4 separate regions of the Homo sapiens genome follow, and regions 2, 3 and 4 are each linked to region 1. Evidence: promoter capture Hi-C in 16 types of primary human blood cells and fetal thymus (Javierre and others, 2016). All regions are on one chromosome and are shown on one strand. The core of a region is centred on a gene start or on the middle of the fragment in contact, and the rest is flanking DNA. Distances in the headings are between cores, read along the strand shown.

The links. The method cuts DNA at HindIII sites, captures the fragments that hold promoters and counts their contacts. A CHiCAGO score of 5 or more calls a contact.
Region 2: a contact is called between a fragment that was not itself captured here and the fragment with the promoter of CDC45 in region 1, in 3 of 17 cell types (naive CD8 T cells, naive CD4 T cells and non-activated CD4 T cells). The highest score is 5.5, in naive CD8 T cells.
Region 3: a fragment that was not itself captured here is called in contact with the fragment with the promoter of CDC45 in region 1 in 2 of 17 cell types (naive B cells and non-activated CD4 T cells); the score reaches 5.1 in naive B cells.
Region 4: the fragment with the promoter of SLC25A1 here is called in contact with the fragment with the promoter of CDC45 in region 1 in 8 of 17 cell types (naive B cells, total B cells, total CD4 T cells and 5 more); the score reaches 11.7 in naive B cells.

Annotation. Positions count from the first base shown.
Region 1 is chr22:19,478,623-19,481,223 of GRCh38, reverse strand. CDC45 (cell division cycle 45) reads right to left here and starts at 1,304. Exons shown (of 19, transcript NM_003504.5): 1 at 1,205-1,304; 2 at 1,007-1,066; 3 at 179-271. The coding sequence starts at 1,255. UFD1 (ubiquitin recognition factor in ER associated degradation 1) reads left to right here and starts at 2,031. Exons shown (of 12, transcript NM_005659.7): 1 at 2,031-2,141. The coding sequence starts at 2,139. RefSeq lists silencers at 1,355-1,404, 2,195-2,264 and an enhancer at 1,495-1,794. The HindIII fragment of the contact is 12,348 bases long and covers 1-2,601 here.
Region 2 is chr22:19,062,003-19,064,603 of GRCh38, reverse strand. It overlaps DGCR2 (DiGeorge syndrome critical region gene 2), which reads left to right. Exons shown (of 10, transcript NM_005137.3): 5 at 1,326-1,402. Among named protein-coding and RNA genes, the nearest start is that of DGCR11, 15 kb to the right of the region's middle. The HindIII fragment of the contact is 919 bases long and covers 822-1,740 here.
Region 3 is chr22:19,079,694-19,082,294 of GRCh38, reverse strand. The region is part of intron 2 of DGCR2 (DiGeorge syndrome critical region gene 2); the gene reads left to right. Among named protein-coding and RNA genes, the nearest start is that of DGCR11, 33 kb to the right of the region's middle. The HindIII fragment of the contact is 4,630 bases long and covers 1-2,601 here.
Region 4 is chr22:19,177,447-19,180,047 of GRCh38, reverse strand. SLC25A1 (solute carrier family 25 member 1) reads left to right here and starts at 1,312. Exons shown (of 9, transcript NM_005984.5): 1 at 1,312-1,468; 2 at 1,808-1,915; 3 at 2,007-2,106; 4 at 2,183-2,321. The coding sequence starts at 1,375. It overlaps CLTCL1 (clathrin heavy chain like 1), which reads left to right. Exons shown (of 33, transcript NM_007098.4): 33 at 79-575. RefSeq lists silencers at 716-815, 1,016-2,095 and an enhancer at 1,267-2,014. The HindIII fragment of the contact is 6,402 bases long and covers 1-2,601 here.

The DNA.
Region 1 (2,601 bases), core at 55-2,554:
TGCTTCTACAACTTGGGCGTGGTAAGTCACCAGTAAATACAGCATGTTTTTCTCTTCCATATTGCCTAATGTAGCTGATACTTAAATACACGCTTAATCTATCGTGGAAATAGAATGCTGTGTCAAGAAATTACAATTGAGTAAAAAGCCACGTTATTCTAAAACGCATCTTCAATACCTGTTCTTTATGCTCAAGAAATGCAGTTTCAAGTTCTTGCCACCCAGAAACTGGAACCAGCGTATATTGCACGTGGTCACACTGGAACAAGGCCTGGAGAGAGAGTGTTTTCAAAGCCTATCTTATTTAGGACATTAGCAATTTACCTTGAAAAGAAACTGAGGAAGATTAGACGGGTTGAGAGACAAAAGACACGGGATAACATTAAAGCTAGTGAAATGCTTACGGGAAAAGCTAGGTGCTAGGGATATGAGCGTTTACCATACCATTCTGTGAATTTTGCAAATTACCAAAGTAAAACATCGGGGAGAAATGCCGATTTAACTTCCAGGCCTTCTGAAAAGTTCCTGATCCAAGGGCCTGACCAAAACAACGTAAATACTATGCCCTATTCAAAACCAAACTAACGATCTTCCCTAATAGACTAGGGGCTCCCATATTCCCAGCAACACCTGTGACACGACTATACCCACAGTTGTCACAGATTCCTCTCTCTCAAATCCCCCATTTGAGAGGCCACGACAGATCCAAAGTTTCCCCCAAATGCAACTGCTGTGTTCACCTATTAATATTAATAGCTTATTGCAAAAATACAAACTAGTCTCTTTACCTTTTACTTAATCCTTTATCCCACCCCACACCGTTGGGACAGGGAGGCAACCTCTCCTCCGAGTCTCTCTCCTCTCACTTGCTGTTCACCTCCTGCCCTGCTCCCTCTCCCACCCTAAGCCCTCAGCACCCATCCTGACACTCTGCCCGCCCTGCGCCCCCACGCAGCACCCTCACCTCGCGCGCCGGCCCCGCCCTCCTAGGGTCCGCAGAACTCACCTGAAGGATCTTGCACGCACACAGAGCATCCACGTCCGAGGCCACGAAGAGAAGGACCCTCTATCGGGGAAGAGCAGACCGGCTGAACACGGCGACCCGAACCCCGGCCCTCCCCTGCCTCCCGGTCACCCACGGTCGCTCCCCCTCATCCCTTCCCCACCGGCAAGGCCTCGGCGGGGGTCCCGGACTGGGCGTCACCTGGCTCTGGACCACCTCGTAGAACTCTTTGCGGAAATCGGACACGAACATAGCCACGGCGGCCGGACGCCTGGCGCTCGCGCTGAGGTACCAAGAGCCCGGCGGCGGTCAAGACTCCCGCCAAATCACGGCTCCTCCGATTGGTCCAGGGATCACCAACCAATAGCTTCTTAGTTCCCAGCCTTCCTTTCTTTCTGATTGGGCCACATTGGAGGCGGCCATTAGCGCTCTGCCATTCACGGCCAGAAAACTCCAGCCCGCCCCCAAAGAAGCGTCACCTCTGAGGCCGAACGCAAACACTGTTGCCCCCTTCAACTCTGACTCGCTTTTACCCAGAAAAGCGACGCTGGGCGGACATCTTTACTTTGGGAAGAGAAGCCTACTGCCTCCCACTGGGAACCCTCAGGGAAAGTATACTTCTAACCATACATTAAACTCAGTCACATACCCAATGGGGCAGCATTTACGTTTGCAATAGGTTTTTGGTGTGGTTTGAAGAAGGATTTGTAGCTTAGTTCCGCCCGAGTCCTCGATGGCTGAAGCAGAGGCAGTCTGGGTAGTGCATTGTGGGTAGTGTAGTCGTAAGGACAATGGGCCCTACTAAATTCGTCTGGAGGGGAATACTGTCAACACGTAATTTAAAATAACGTTTAAAAATACCTATAAAAGGGGAAATAAATCACGAAAGGGCATTTTAATGCTTCTACTGAGGGTGTTTTAGAGCCTAGCGTCTTCGCCTGGCCTTTTCTCTTTTGCAGCCGACGCTTTGTCCCGGGCACCCCCCCTCCGGGTCTCGGGTCCGGCACTTCCGGTGAGCCTCTGGGGCGTACCGGCTTGGCGCGGCGGCAGCGGCAGCGGCGGCTGGGAGAGCGGTCGGCGGGGTTTCTTCGTTGCATTGCCTGAGAGGAGCGGAGTCTGCCAGGTGGTGTCCATCATGGTAAGCGCTGACGGGCAGCGGGCGGGGGCTGGGCCTTGGCCCGGGGCCTGAGGTAGGGCCCGGCGGGGCAGGGCGGGGCGGGACGGCGGCGGAGGTGCCGAGTCACCCGGGCCTGAGTCCGGCCTGCAGGCTCATCGGCCGCACCGGGCACAAGCAGGACCCTTGACCACTAACCGCCTGTGGTCGCGTCCGCCGGTCCTGAACGTGGCTCGCATTCTGTCTCAGCCGGACTTGCCCTCCTTGACGAAAGAAAGGAAGGTTTGTGTCCATTCACGGGTTTCCCAAGTGCTGGACGCGCAACAGGTTTCCATAAACCCAAAGTTAGTTGCAAGGTTGCTGGGGATGGGAACAGAATCAGGGCGCTCCCCAGGGAGAATCCGTAGTGGGCATCCCCCGCTCTTGGGGGACACCCAGCTCTTGCCCCAGCTCCGTGAGCTCCGTGCCTACGGGTTCGTGCCTT
Region 2 (2,601 bases), core at 32-2,531, 420 kb after region 1:
CCTTTCATTGGTACCCCTCTCCTTGTACAAGTGCAGTTGCTGAGCGCAGGCAGGGGGCTGGGGGTGCTGGCTTGTGTGGGGAGAACTGCTTGGTGTGGGGCTTCGTGGGCCTTGTGCAAGGGGTGTGCAGTGTAGGTGGGGGTTCCCCCCAAGAAAGCAAGGGGGCCTTCGCTTCAAGACCCAAGCTGGGTTTTGACTCCACAGTTATGCCCTGTGAGAGTTTGGCAAATCACAAGACGGAGTTGTTTTTCCTTCTGCAGCTACAAAGGGAGGAAACTAACTCTTAGCTCACAGGTTGTTGTACTAACCCCATGAGGACAGGCCTGTGAGTCCAGTGGAGAAGCAAGAGGGTATAGCCCGGAGGGCAGGGCAGCCCCATCTCTGAGGACAGCCTTGTGGTTGCACAGCATAGGGCAGAGTGTGCCATCCCTGGGCTCCTGCCATGCGGGGAGACCTGCTGATGGGCATCTCTAGGCTTGGGGCTGGAAAGCTGGGCCAAGGGACATGGACTAGGCAGGAGCTTATGGCGGTCAGCCAGATGCCAGTGCAAGGTCCTTTCAGTGCTAGGCCTGCATGCTCAGGAGCAGGCTGCAGGCCTGAGGTGGGCTGGCTCTGAGTGGGAAGCCGTGCAAGTGTTTTCAGCCCCCATGGTAGTGGATATTTGCAGGGACTTATGTCTTTATTGAGATGCAGTTCACATGCCATGAAAATCTCCCCTGTGGAGTGCCCTGTCCTATGGTTTTAGCATAGTCACCGAGTTGTATTCATGGGGTTTCATGTCTACCAAGAATAAGATTGTTCTTGCTTAAATTGTGAAAGCTTTACCGGTTTAGCTCATAGAAACAGTCTTGGCAAGAGTTCCCTGAGATAAAACTTTTCCTGCCCTGTGAACTTTCTTGTTTTGAATTTTAATGCATTCTAACATGAGTGTCTCATGTTAGAAGCTCAGTGTTGTGGAGGTCAGTATAGCTATTAAAAAACAATCCCAGCACTTTGGGAAGCCGAGGCGGGTGGGTCATGAGGTCAGGAGATCGAGACCATCCTGGCCAATATGGTGAAACCCCGTCTCTACTAAAAAAAAAAAAAAAAATACAAAAATTAGCTGGGCGTGGTGGCCTGTGCCTGTAATCCCACCTACTCGGGAGGCTGAGGCAGGAGAATTGCTTGAACCAGGAAGTCAAGTTGCAGTGAGCCGAGATCGCACCACTGCACTCCATCCTGGTGACAGAGCGAGACTCTGTCTCAAAAAACAAAAAACACACAGTCATTGATGGTTGCATCCCTCCTGCCGCTGAGATCTCTGTCTCTGTCTCTGTGCCCTGCAGGTTGTGGGTTGGCTATCAGTATGTTATCACTGGCCGGAACCGCTCCTTGGAAGGTCGCTGGGAGGTGGCATTCAAAGGTGAGCCCTTCTGGTGTGTGGGAGTGTTTGAAGCTGGGCAGAGTCACCCTGATTCGGGGCCTCCCCTCCTCCCTCTTACCCAGTGCTGCCTGGCCCGTAGGGGTGCTGTGCAGGGAGTGGGTGAGCCCCAGTTGCAGGGAGGGCTGCGGTCATGGGGCCAGTGCAGCCTGCAGATCAGGCCCTGCATTGGGCGGTGGCTGTCTCTGGAACCCTCTGTTGCATCTCACTTTGGCCAGCTTTCTAGATTGTCCCCCGCCTCCTTTTGAAGTTAAAGACCTTGGAGTATAAAAATGAGCATGCAGAGTGTGCCCCTGGCAGGCTGGAGGGGAGGACAAGCTTGCCAGGACAAAGGTCAGACGTAGAATCCAGACCTGAAGGAAACTATCAGGCAGATAGAGAGAGAGAGAGAGAGAGAGAGAGAGTGAGCATGCATGTGTGTGTGTGCGCAAAGATTTTATGCGGAGCTGCTTGGAAATACCAAGACGACGTAAAGGAAACATGGCTGCTGTTTCCTTTACATTCCCTGGGCTCGGACTTGGCTTGCCCTTCCTGTCCCATTGCCCTGGCACTGGCGAGCTCCTCCTGGACATACTCCAGCAGTGCCTTCTCCAGCTGCCGCCAGGGTCACACTCCCTTGCCCTGCCCCTTCCCTGTCTGTTGGGCTGTACTTTGTGCCTGTGGCTTGAGCTAGGATTTGGGTTCTTTTCGTAAACACATCCCAGTCCTGCTGTTGATGTCTTAAGTATCTCTAAGAAGGATAAATGAGGAGTGATGGGCCTGGGGACAGGGTTGAAAAGGGTCAAGGCCTGGGTGGCCGGCTTCCCTGGAGAAAAGAGGGCCCCACAGAGGCGGGGCCATGCCTGGCTGCTGGGACAGGGCAGGAGCAGAGGTGGGGGCTGCAGAGCCCAGCAGACTGGGGCCACACCTGCTGTCCCGATCCTGCTCAGGACAGATGCCACCCTGTTCTCATGACCACCAGTGCCCTCCTGAGAGCCCCAGCCACATTTGCATTCCCTGGCTTTATGAGTGCATTGTTTAGATTGCTATTGACTAATCAATGGCTTCTGGGTTTCCAGGCCCCAGAGTCAAAGTTTGCCTCATAGAGCATAATTATCCTGGTAGCTTGTCCTCCTGACACTGGTGGTTGAAGAGAAGACATGATTCTGAGTGGGATGACAGCACATTCAGAGTTGGGGACT
Region 3 (2,601 bases), core at 74-2,573, 400 kb after region 1:
CAAGAGTTCCAGACCAGCCAGGGCAACGTGGTGAAATCCTGTCTCTATGAAAAAAAAAAAAAAAAAAAAAAAGAAATAATTAGCCAGATGTGGTGGTACACACTTGTAGTCCCAGCTTCTCAGTAGGCTAAGGTGGGAAGAATCACCTGAGTCCCTGAGGTCAAGGCTGCAGTGAGCCGAGATTACACCACTGGACATCAGAGTGAGACCCTGTTTCAAAAAAAAAAAAACAAAAAAAACCCCAAAAAACACCAGTAAAGACTGTGAAAAGACAAGCTAGAGTAGAGAGAAGATATTTGCAACACTTACAGCCTGTAAAGGATAAGGATTCTAATTCAGTGTATATAAAGAACTCCTATAAAGCATTTCGTAGATGGTGATTAAACATAGAAAAAGACATTTAAATTTAACCTCGTTAGTATTCTAAGACTACATACAGTGAGATACCACTTTACAGATGCTTAGACTGGCAAAAATTAAAATGTTGGAGAAGATATGGATAGTGTGGAAATTTTATGTGCTTCTTTACACCCACTCTGGAATAGAGACATTATCTTGCAAAGCTGAACATTCTTATTTTCTGTGATCCAGGATTTCTATTTAGGGAAACTCTGGAAAAATCCTTGCAGAATTGTTTGTACAGTTTTTCCAGAGTGGGTGTAAAGGAGCAGATAAAATTCCAAGCCATCCACATCCTCTCCAACTCTTGGTTTTGTCAGACATCTTAATTTTTGCCATTGATACATGTCTTGGAAACAACCCAAATGTCTGTGCTCACATGATGGAATGTTATACACCAGCAACAGTAAGTGAATGTTAGGTTTATGCAGCAACATGGATGAATCTTGAAAACAGAACGTCAGCTAAAAGCAAGTTGCTAAAAACGACATATGGCACAATATAGAGAAGCAAAACAGATCGTTATATTACTTATAGATACATACACATGTGGTAAACTAAAAGAAAAAAATAAGCGCAGTGATACACAAAATTCTAGTTCCTGGTGGAGAGACAGAGGGATATAAGACTGGGAGAAGCAAAATAATGCTTGATTTCCTAAATGGGGTGTGGGGAGGTCGCTCACAACTATATTATTAGGCTTATGAATCTTACATGTGTGCTACATACATTCTTTGAAATGTTTCACATATTATACAGCTTTTTTCCTTTCCAAAGAAAAGCCAATGGGAGAGTTAAACTGACCTGGTGTAGCAGAGCAGCTGCAACCATGGGCCTGCTTGAGTGAGAACAACAAGAAATAAGCAGTTTGCCCAGCAGCCTCCCAGAAAGGCTCAGCGCTTGAAGGCTCTGAGTGCCAAGGGTGGCAGGCATCAGGCATAGGCATGGGAGTGGGATAGGGATTGGTGGAATTCTCTTGGCACTCGCATTCCCTTCTTCACTTTCCATCACTGGGTGACTCTTTCTGCTACCATAAGATGTGGGGTTTCATTTCTTTTTTTTGAGACAGAGTCTTGCTCTGTTGCCCATTGGAGTACAGTGGTGAAACCACAGCTGAATGCAACCTCAAACCCCTGGACTCAAGCGATCCTCCCACCTCAGCCTCCTGAGTAGCTGAGACTACAGGCGTGTACCACCATGCCCAGCTAATTTTTAAATTTTTTGTAGAGACGAGGTCTCGCCCTGTTGCTGAGGCTGGTCTTGAACTCCGGGGCTCTAGCAATCCTGCCCCCAGCCTCCCAAAGTGCTGGGATTACAGGCATGAGCCACTGTGCCCCGCAGGAGTTGATTTTCTAGACCAACACTGTCCAGTGTAGTAGCCATGAGTCACATGTGGCTGTTTTGAAGGAAGATGTGCAGCAGGTGTAAAATACACACCAAATAGGAAAGACCTAGTACAAAAAAAGAATGTAAAACATCCCATGAATACTTCTTTATATTGTTTCCATGTTGCAGTAATAGTATTTTGAATATATTGGGTTAGATAAAGTATTAAAATTAATTTCATGTTTGTTTCTACTTGTTGAAATGTGGTTTGCATTGTGTTTCTATTAGACAGCACTTAAAGTCTGCAAAATAAGTGACACCAGGTACAACAGAGGGGAGTCGTGGAGGTTGAAAATAGAGGAATTAAGAGAAATTCTCTGTAGTGACAAGTAGGTAATAAGTAGGATGCTCAGGCCTGTCTTCTGCCCTGCTCTCCAGATGTCAGCAGCCAGGTGTTTTCCCAGACAGGAGATTGGAGGAGTCTTTTCTAGAGACACTGGCACTTCATACAAGAGGTAGAAAAGTGTCAACATAATGGAAGGTTTCCAACTGAAAGACTAGCTCTCCCACCGTGGTCCCTGACAAGCGTCTAGCCCACTAGGCTCACTAGAGCCTCTGGCTAGCTGGGTCACCTTCCTCTTATGATGAAAGACAACCAGTGCTGACCAGATCTAGAAGAAAACATCCACTGTGGATATTCGCCAGAGTCTGAACAAAGCACACCAGACCAGAAGGGCCACAGCAAAGTGGCCTGAGGCAGCCAGCTCTGCTGTATGTCATATCGTGGTTAAATGTGGGGGCTTGAGCCAGGGACTGGGGCTGCTCCCCTGCTTTCACCACTTACTGGCTGTGATCCTTTGGGCAAATTGCATCCAT
Region 4 (2,601 bases), core at 63-2,562, 300 kb after region 1:
GGGCTACTCAGGGGCAGCCAGGAGAGGACCCCCATGGGCAGGAAGAGCTCTGCTCATTGTGGGCTTCCCCCTCTGCAGGCCCTGCCGTGGGCCCAGCCCCTGCCAGCTTCCCCTATGGATATGCCTCTGCTCCCAACTTCGCCAGCCTCCAATGTACAACTTCCGCGTGTAGTGGGCGTTGTCACCACCCACCCTACCTGCAGAGTTACTAACTTCTCCAAGGAGCATGTCACTCCAGCAGCACAGGGGACGCAATGGGAGGCAGGGACACCTGGACAATATTTATTTTTGCTGAAACCCAATGACGGCAACCTCTGAGCCATCCCAGAGCCTGGGGAGGCCAGGGTAGAGGCTGACGGCGCAAGACCAGCTTTAGCCGACAACAGAGACTGGACTGTGGGCCCTCCTGCTGGAGCCAGGCCTTCCTCCTGGGCGCCTCCGACTGGCTGGAGCTGCCCCCTCCAGGCCAGTTTGAAGACTACATGAACACGTCTTGTTTGGAGGTACCGGACCTCATAAAAGGACTCTCAGCCTCTTGGCAATCATAAATATTAAAGTCGGTTTATCCAGGCAAAGGTGCTCTGCTTGGTGCTGGTATGGGTAGGAGGGACGGGCCAGTTTCCTAGGCCCCGCAGTCCATTAAAGATTTGCTGGGTCCTCTTTGGGGTGTGGGACCTCCGTTGCCCAGACAAGCTGCCTAGGAGAATACAGCCGCTTGCATTTGTGGTCTTTCCTGACCTTGTTCGCTGAGCGCAGAAACTACAACCGGGAAAGGTGTGGGTGGGAACCGGCAGGTGAGGCCCGGCCCGTGGCTGCTGCGGGAGGGGGGCCCGGCGGCGTAGCCCCTTCTCACCGGCCTCCCGCCTCCCGCCTCCAGGTTTGAAACGTTAGAGTTCCTCTGGGACTGGGCTAGCCCCACGTGTTTTCGGGGAGGGTGTGCCCCTGGCCTCCGGGATCCCTGGGGATCCCGCCGCTCTCGACAGTCGCGCAGACCCGAGGCCCGCTATCCCGCGGCGCGGCACACAGTGCACCTTGACCCACTGCTCGGAGCTGGGCCACGGCTCCGCCTCCCGCAGCCCCGCCCCCGTCCCGCCGCTCGCGGTCGCCCAGGGACTCGGCCTCGGCCATTGGCTGCGCTTTGGCCCCGCCCCTACGCCTGCCTCGGCGCGCCCCGCCCAGGCCTCAGTTTCCCGGCCCGCACGGGGCGGGCTGGGGGCGGGGCCTGGCTCGGACCACGCGGGGCGGGACCTGGAGCTGACGCGGCCGCCCCGCCCCTGGGACCATAACCGGCCGCCGCCGCCACCGCGGACCGAGCGCGGAGTTCTGGAGTCTCGGACCCGAAGCCGCCACAGGGCGCCCCGCCTCCCGCCCGCCATGCCCGCGCCCCGCGCCCCGCGCGCTCTGGCGGCCGCCGCGCCCGCGTCCGGGAAGGCCAAGCTGACGCACCCGGGGAAGGCGATCCTGGCAGGTGGGCCCCTCCGGGACGCGGACCCCTCTCCCGCCGCGCTTCTGGGTGGGCCCGGGACGCTGAGGCCCCGCCCCACTTCCGGGTTGGGCCGTGGGCTGGGGAGTCGTGGAGGCGCGGTCCTGGTCCCCACCCGGCGCGCTGGGACTCGCCCGCCTCCCGTCTGTCACCCCCTGCGCCTCGCCGGGACAACGGGGTGAGGGCATGGGGGCGTGGGGCCCCAGCCTATGTTCCCCGCGGCACTGGCGCGGCGGCCGCGCCGACCGAAGTCCGGGACGGGGGAGGGGCCCGAGCGCCAGCGGCCGGGCGGGAGTCTCAGGAGCGGGTTCCCGGTCCCTGCAGGCGGCCTGGCGGGTGGCATCGAGATCTGCATCACCTTCCCCACCGAGTACGTGAAGACGCAGCTGCAGCTGGACGAGCGCTCGCACCCGCCGCGGTACCGGGGCATCGGTGAGGAGGGGGAGGCCGCGGCGCCGCGGGGGGCGGGTACCCAGGGCGGCGGCACCGAGGGCCGTGGGGTCCTGACCGCCCCCTCCCCCAGGGGACTGCGTGCGGCAGACGGTTCGCAGCCATGGCGTCCTGGGCCTGTACCGCGGCCTTAGCTCCCTGCTCTACGGTTCCATCCCCAAGGCGGCCGTCAGGTGAGGCCCGGCCGGTGGCTGCTGCGGGAGGGGGGCTCGGCCGCGGCAGCCCCTCTCACCCGCCTCCCGCCTCCAGGTTTGGAATGTTCGAGTTCCTCAGCAACCACATGCGGGATGCCCAGGGACGGCTGGACAGCACGCGTGGGCTGCTGTGCGGCCTGGGCGCTGGCGTGGCCGAGGCCGTGGTGGTCGTGTGCCCCATGGAGACCATCAAGGTGGGGAAGGTCCTGGCGAGGACCCCGGACACGCAGGGAGTACGGAGACGGGCGGCCCCGCTGGCCCGGTGCTCCCGGGGCAACCGGCAAGCTGGGGAGGGTCTCCTGGACGCCAGGGAAGGCCGGCGGGGTGACCGCGGGGCCCTGGGGCAGGACGCCTGCCACGAAGGGCCACCCGTGGAGGCTGAGTCTATGCTAAAGGCAGCCTTAAAGTCTTTAAAAAATACTTTTATAAAGCAGAAAACAAAATGACACCTTCACTGCCAAAACTGGAAAAGAG